2 separate regions of the Homo sapiens genome follow, and region 2 is linked to region 1. The links are contacts of gene promoters, found by promoter capture Hi-C in blood cells and fetal thymus (Javierre and others, 2016). All regions are on one chromosome and are shown on one strand. The core of a region is centred on a gene start or on the middle of the fragment in contact, and the rest is flanking DNA. Distances in the headings are between cores, read along the strand shown. Region 1 holds the start of PCM1 (pericentriolar material 1). Region 2 overlaps MTMR7 (myotubularin related protein 7).

Region 1 (3,854 bases), core at 419-2,918:
GAATAAAAAATACTTCAGTTTTGGTCTAAAGTATGTTTAGAAAGATCAAAAGAAGGGGAAAAATATAACTTATTCATATTTTAAATTTAAGTTACCTCAATTCTTTTGGAAAATAGTGTGATATGCATAAATGCTTAAATCCCCTAAACTTCTGAAATCTTACCAAACAGCAAAGTGATATCTATTTCGGAACAGTGTAACAAAGATGGTTAGCCCTAACTATCCTTTAATAGTCTATGCCAAAGTTTACTCCTCTGATTGATCGAGCTTCCTGTTACTCAAACTATGTAACAACCTCGTATATCCGATGATTTTAAAAATGTTTGCTCATTTAAAAGCTACTGTACTTCATAATAAAATAACCTCGTCACTACATAAATACCAGGTTTACCTTCAATTCAAAAACTCTGTATTATATTGGTGTTCAGGGGTCCTCACCAGGAAGGTGCTAGGGAAAGAAAGGAGCAGGTGCACCCGAGGCTCTGCAACACCCACTCCGGTAACCAGAGAACACCAGCAGGCGGAGTCTGGAAAGCGGTTATGGGGCGGGGGTGGTAGGGGCGCCCAGAAAGCCCGCTCCTTCCAGCGCCCAAACACGAACCGTCACCCGTAAGACACACAATACAGACCTCAACTCGCTCAAAAAAACAAAACAAAACAAAAAAAATTAAACCAGGCGAGTTCCTGGGGAGTAGGCTGAGGGATGCAAAGTTGGCGCGCCCAGCCTCCCTGGCGGGGCCTAATCCCCAAACGCCAGTTTCTGTAAACCAAACAACGTTTCCCCCAGTCCCACTTGGCATTTAGTCTTTCCCGGTTCTAGGCCCAATTCTAACTAGATAGGTAGGAAGGGAGAAAGAAGGGGCAATAATTACTCCATTAACCTTCCCAGGAACGCCTCCCCCGGCCCATCGGCTCCCACAGCACCAGAGACGGCGGAAATCCTGCAGCTCACAGCCCAACTGCAACTCTTCAGAGTCGCGTCGCTCCTCATCCGCCCTTCTACACCCCAAACTCTGGACACCGAGAGTTCCACAGAGGGAACGCGGGGAAGAACTATGGCCACCAAGGCCTGTTTCTCTAAGAACTCGACCCAGTGCCCCTAGCACCCAAACCAGAGTCCCCGCTCCGCTTCCTCCGCCCGCAAGGGGTATAGCCGGAGCCACCGGGACGCAGAACAGCCTCCCCGACAGGGCCAGCAGGAGGGGCGAGGAGGCAAGAAGGGAGTCCTGCAATCACCAACGCGTCGCGAGGTGCTCACCCGGGGATCCCGGCGATCAGTCCTGAGGGAGCGGGCGGACTGACCGCCTAGGGCACGGGAAGCCCGGGGCAGGAAGACCCGGGAACCTACAGAGGAGGCGTGGGCCCGTGGCCAGACCCAACAGGGCCGAGTGTCCCGGAGCCGTTACTCTCCCGCCTCTGGGGCGCGCCGCCCTAGGTTGCCAAGGGCTGGGGACGCGCAGGCATTACCTCTACAAGAAGCAGCCTCTCCTGTCAAAGGCAGAGCGACAGTCAGCCCCCACGACCCGCCGCCGGCAGCGGTCGGCCCTCGGAGACCGCAGCAGAGAGGCCCACACGTTTCCTGGCTGCCTCGGCCCCAGTGGCCGCCTTTTCGACCTCAGCTACGCAGCGCCAACCGCCGCAGCCACCGCCATCTTAGGATCTCATTGTGGTGGGAGAAGAGGGGCGGGGGTACTGCAGAGGGGGCAACGCGCGGCGGGACATGCGCCGTCTCCTCGGCAACGGCCGCGCGGGGGCGAGAACTCGCCCGGGCGGGAGCCGCAATGCGAGCTAGACTGGAGTCATGTGACCCGCCGGAGTCTGTGGTGTCGCTTCTGGCTCTTTAAGCCGAAAAGAGATTACACCAACGAATCCGCCCCCACCCGCCCAGGAACTATGTATCCCAGAATGCCAACTAGACCTCGCGTTCTAAACGCCTGCCGGCCACAGGTGGAGGACTACAAATCCCAGCATGCCGTGCGCTTCCGGCGCTGATCGCGGAGCGTGGGGCCCTAGGCCTATGCGGAAGTGCATTGATCCCTCAGCCCGTGGAGAAAGAGCGGAGGCGCTGTGCGGTTTTCCGTGGGGGTGTCAGCTCCGGCCCGTGCCGGAAGAAGGAGCCAAGACCGGGATCGCTTTTTTGCCCCTTCCTCACCCCACATTCGGTCACGAAGAGGTGGAAACAAAAGGACACTTACAATGTAGTCCAACCTCCTGATTTTACATATGAGGGGATTGTTCCACGGAAGTTAAACAATTTGCCAGACGTCATTATGTATCTACTGAGTGAGAGAATCATAAATATTGTTGATAGTTAACGCCACTTTTGGTTAATGTCCCTTTTCCTTAAAAGAGCCAGATGATTTTAATCCAAACTTAATTTCAGTAAATTTTCTCTGAACTATCTTTTTATTTATACTCTCCTGTTACAGCTCTATTAAGATTAATAAATTGGCAGGTCCTCCCTTTAAAAAACAAAAATCAATAAAGTCACAAGGCCTTCAATGTGCCTGACTGGAAAGGTAAAACACCTGTCAGTTTTAGTTGAGTGCAAGGGCATTCTTCTAGTTTTACGCAGTTTATAATTATGGAATAACTTTTTAAGCAAAATAAAGGTAAAAAGAAGAATTGCATTCTGGGTTTCAACAACAAAAACAAATTGTTCCCAAAATAGTAGGTCTGCATCTCAGTACGCAATTCACATAAAGCTCTTCTATCCCACTGCAATCTGCCACCGTAGGTTCAGTCGTGAGTGCATTGATCGTTGGTCAGACACTTTTTCCTCATATTCTGTGTGTGTATCGCTAACTACTGCGGTAGCAAAAATATAGTCCCTGCCCTTGAAGAGCTCATATTTTAGTGAAGGATGCGGAAGTGGAGTGTGATGTAAATAAAGTTTGTGTTGTAAGAAAAAGTGCTGTGGGAGCTCAGAACACAGCAGCTAAACGCTCAGGTGTTTATTGTAGTCCAGAATGCCCTATCCTAATTCCACCACTCCAAGATCCTGGACAAGCGACGTGCCTTTCTGAGCCTTAATTGCCCCATCTATGAAATGAGGGGGAAGGAATGATACTGCCTACCTTGAAAGGATTTTTTAAAAAATGTTCTCAGAGTTTGTTTTATGCCAGGCACACTGTAAAGCACTTCGGCTGTTGTGATTTTCTTGATCCTCACAGTTACCCTGAAGAGGCTGGTTCTGAATCTGACCCGTTTTGGCAATGAAAGATTATATAAATCAAACTTGTAGCAGCTGCAAGTGGTAGAGCCTAAATTTAAACGGAGGTCTATGTGATTCCTTTAAGATTTTTTTTAATTAAATACAACGCATATAAAAACACTAGTATATGTTGAGGCCCGAAATATTAGCTATCATCATTATTTTGCTTTATACATATGTATTATTATTAAACGTATGTAGAAGCTGTTATCATTAAAACAATTCTAATAAATTCAAAAGCGTGAAATTATAATACGTACTAGTCATTATGTTTTCTGAATTTATGAAGCTCCAGAATGTCAATACTATTGTTTATTAGGAGGTAGGAGGAATTTGAGAAATATTTACATTGAAATGTAGAAGCTGTTATCATTAAAACAATTCTAATAAATTCAAAAGCATGAAATTATAATATCTACTAGTCATGATGTTTTCTGAATTTATGAAGCCCCAGAATGTCAATACTATTGTTTGTTGGGAGGTAAGAGGAATTTGAGAAATATTTACATTGAAAAGGGGATCTCAAACTCAAATATGAGCATTACTGATCTTTGTAAGGGAAGAAGGAAAGAAAAAAAACAAGAAGCGATAAAATTATACCTGGCTTTCAGAAATTTAACATCTATTTTTAGAAACAAAC
Region 2 (3,854 bases), core at 404-2,903, 560 kb after region 1:
GGGATATGACCTTCCTAGAGTGGGCAAATATTTTCTCTCTGTTCAGATTCTGTAAATATTAAAGATTTGTCTAAAATATAAGAAGCTTCTGCATAACAAAGGAAATTGAAGAAAAGACTTGGAAGCCATATACCTGATAAAGGATTAATACCCAAAATATGTCAGGAACTCAAACAACTCTATAGGAAAAAAAACAAGTACTCTGATTAAGAAAAGGACAAGGGACCTCAAGAGACATTACTCAAAAGAAGACATAGATGGCTAACAGATACATGAACAAACGCTCAACCTCAATAATCATTAGGGAGATGCAAATTAAAACCACAGTGAGGTATCGCCTCACAACTGTTAGAATGACCTTTACCAAAAAGATGGAAGACAACAAAGCTTTGGCAAGGGTGGGGAGGAAAGAGAATGCTTATGCACTGTTGGTGGGAATGTAAATTAGTACAAGCCATTATGGAAAACAGATGGAGGTTCCACAACAAACAAAAAATAGAATTATCGTATGATTCCACAATCCCACTTTTGAGTGCTTACTGGAAAGATTGAAATCGGTAAGTTAAAGAAACGTCTGCTCTCACATTTTCGTTGCAGCACTATTCACAGTAGCCACGTTGTGGAATCAACTTAAGTATCCATCATTGGATGAAGAGATAAAGAAAACATGGTATATACAAATAATGGAATGCTATTCAGCCTTAAAAAGGAAGACATTGTGTTATTTGTGACAACATGGATGGAATTAGAGAGCATTATGCTGAGTGAAAAAAGCCAAACATAACAAATACCATATGTTCTCACTTACATGTGGGATCTATGACAGTTAAACTCATAGAAGCAGAGAGTAGAATGGTGGTTACCAGAGGCTGGGGGTGGGGGACGTGGGGAGATGATGGTCAAAGGCTGCAAAGCCTCAGGCAGGAGGAATAAGTCTCATTATTTTGAAATCTGTTGCACAGTGTGTTGAGTATAGGTAATAGTTCAGTAGTGTACATTTCGAAACGCTAAGAGTAAATTTCAGATGTTCTCGTTACAAAAAATGTTAAATACTTGAGGCAATGTATATGTTAATTAGCTTGAATTAATCATTCCACATTGTAGTCAAAAATCATAACATCACTTTTTGACCGGGCGCGGTGGCTCACGCCTGTGATCCCAGCACTTTGGGAAGCCGAGGCGGGCAGATCACAAGGTCAGGAGATCGAGACCATCTTGGCTAACACAGTGAAAACCCGTCTCTACTAAAAAAAAATGCAAAAAATTAGCCGGGCGTGGTGGCGGGCTCCTGTAGTCCCAGCTACTCCGGAGGCTGAGGCAGGAGAATGGCGTGAACCCGGGAGGCGGAGCTTGCAGTGAGCCGAGATCGCGCCACTGCACTCCAGCCTGGGCGACAGAGCGAGACTCCGTCTGAAAAAAAAAAAAAAAAAAAAAAAAAATAATAGCAACACTTTTTACCCCAGAAATATATGAAACTGTAATTCATCAATATATTATTAAAAAGTCTGTAAGCAAAAAAAAAAAAGGATTGTCAAGCCCTAGGTTTTTTTTTTTTAAGCTTGCCTCCCAGCTAATTGCTAAACATTCTGCTAAATATTTGGTAAAAGTAGAGAACGAAAAGAACAGAAAATTATGACATGGGAACAATTCAGTAAAACTTTCATCTGTGCTAGTGGCGCTTTTCGATTTCTTAGAGTAGGCAGAGTCTGCAGGCTGTATCTGGGCTTGCCTGTGGGTAAGAAGCTTGCCCATATTGACATGACTGTTGGCTGACAAAAATGGGCTTTTCCTGGCCCTCGTGTACAATTTTCCTTAAATTGGGCATAAGGATTGGTTGATCACCCTTTTCCTTAAAAAAGGGAAAATTTCATAATTTCAGTGTCAACCCATCCTAAGGTCTCCTAGTTCAACAGTGATCTGCTTAATGTCTGTTATAAATTATTCTTGCTGTAATTTATGGATAATTTCGTTGCCTCTTCCCAGTGGAAACAGGTATCAGCCCACACGCAGAAAACTGTCAGTAGTCATAGGATGTTTTTCTTCTTCTACCTTTAAAGCTATTTGTAAATATTTAACAAAGAGAACTTAACTGCCATTATTACCCCATATTCAGTAGCTCTTCTTTCACTCAGGGAACTGAGGCTTTCTCAAGAGATTCCTTTGGCATCCTAAACAACTTGCATTTGTGGTTAACATTATGGTAGCAGAAGCCTGAGTCATGAAAATGGTACTTAGAGATGGAAAAGATGTGTCAATGTTGAGCCAACTGTTCCCAGAACAGGATCTGAGGTTTCACATGCTGTCAGCAACATTAGCTAAGATGATAAGAAATTGATTTTACGGAACGCGTCTGCTCTGGTTTGTGTGTGAGCACGCCTGGATGTGCGTATTTTGTTATTTGTCCAAATAGTCCGTACTCTAAGTTTTGAAGTTTAGAAACATGACATGGAGAAAGACTGAAATAGAATATAATTTATCTCACTGACATACAGCAGTTGCTTCTTACTCTCAAGAAAAATGAAGAAATCTGGTGCTTAAAATATGACCCTTATCTTTCCTCTTCCATGCAGATGAGTCATCTCAAGTTTGAAACCTGAGTTTTCATGTCAGGCTGCCTGTGTGTTGCTGCAGCCTCTTGCTGGTGGCAAGATTCTATAAAGGGCTACACATACATGTATTTAGGAAACTTAAATTGTTCACACTGAATACTATCACTATGCTAAGGACATAGGAGGACCTAGGAAAGCTATGAGAAAGAAGTATATTGGAGAAAAACAGGAAGATTAGGGGCCTGGAACGAGGAAGGAAGAAGAAGAGAGAAGGATCTGCGTTTGGGGAGGGTGTGTTACAATTAGGAGCAGGCCTTCTGCAGCCAGATGTCTCATTTAAACCTGGACTCTCCGGTAACTGGCTGTGTGACTCTGAGGGAGGGAGTGTGCCTCCCGTTTGCGTCAGATTTCTCGTCGGTAAAATGAGGACCATCAATGTTGCCTACTAACTGGATTAATGCACTTAATTGCGACAGAATCTGGAACAAAACAAGGTCTGAGTATCAGTTATCCTTTATTATCATCAGAAATGCTTAGATCTGCACTGTCCAAGGTGGTAGCCACTGGCCACAGATAGCTGTTCAGCGCTACTGCAAACTGAGGTATGCGGTTAAGTGCCAAATACATGTGAAATTTCAAAGACAGCACAAAACAAAATGTATCAAATATTAGTAAGTTTTATATCATGCACATGTTGAAGTGATAATGATTTTGGATATATTGGGCTAAATAAAATAGATTGTTAAATTAATTTAACTTTTTTTTAATGTGGCTACAAGGACATTTAAAATGACATACATAGCTCACATTATATTTCTGTTGGATAGCGCTGGTCTCTACACTTCCCTTAAATGGCAAGAGCAGAGCAAGAAAATCAAATCCTAGATTTTAGTGGAGAGAGGGAAACAGTGGGGCTATTGGGCTTCACAAGCATCAAAGGCAGTATATAAAGACAGAGATAACACGACAGGATTGAAAGAAACCACATCATGATGCAGCCTTCAATTCGCATCCCACGAGCACAGCGCTGTGCAGTATGAATTGATTTTTTTTATGAATCTTATGCAAATGAGCAGCACAATTACGATATTTATGTAGTTGTTTAAAGTTCAGATGTTTCCAATGCAAACGTTTAGTATATTCCAGAGTTTTTTCAACTTTATTATTTTTTTCTTTTTTAACCCTGTGAGCATCAAAATGTGCAATTGGCCTGGGCCTTGTGTCTGCCTCTGAGAGGCCATCCCAAATCCAAGCTTGATAGGCATTAAAAAAATGGAATCTTCATGCCTAATGAATGCATATGTT

What was found. The method cuts DNA at HindIII sites, captures the fragments that hold promoters and counts their contacts. A CHiCAGO score of 5 or more calls a contact.
Region 2: a fragment that was not itself captured here is called in contact with the fragment with the promoter of PCM1 in region 1 in 1 of 17 cell types (neutrophils); the score reaches 5.0 in neutrophils.

Annotation. Positions count from the first base shown.
Region 1 is chr8:17,920,802-17,924,655 of GRCh38, reverse strand. PCM1 (pericentriolar material 1) reads right to left here and starts at 1,668. Exons shown (of 39, transcript NM_006197.4): 1 at 1,468-1,668. LOC124901867 reads left to right here. Exons shown (of 4, transcript XM_047422505.1): 2 at 429-499; 3 at 890-1,147; 4 at 1,310-3,628. The coding sequence ends at 1,992. RefSeq lists enhancers at 641-700, 1,851-2,300 and a silencer at 1,162-1,456. The HindIII fragment of the contact is 6,694 bases long and covers 1-3,854 here.
Region 2 is chr8:17,361,607-17,365,460 of GRCh38, reverse strand. The region is part of intron 3 of MTMR7 (myotubularin related protein 7); the gene reads left to right. All of the region lies in intron 1 of LOC102724838 (a long non-coding RNA gene), which reads right to left. Among named protein-coding and RNA genes, the nearest start is that of MTMR7, 50 kb to the left of the region's middle. The HindIII fragment of the contact is 185 bases long and covers 1,561-1,745 here.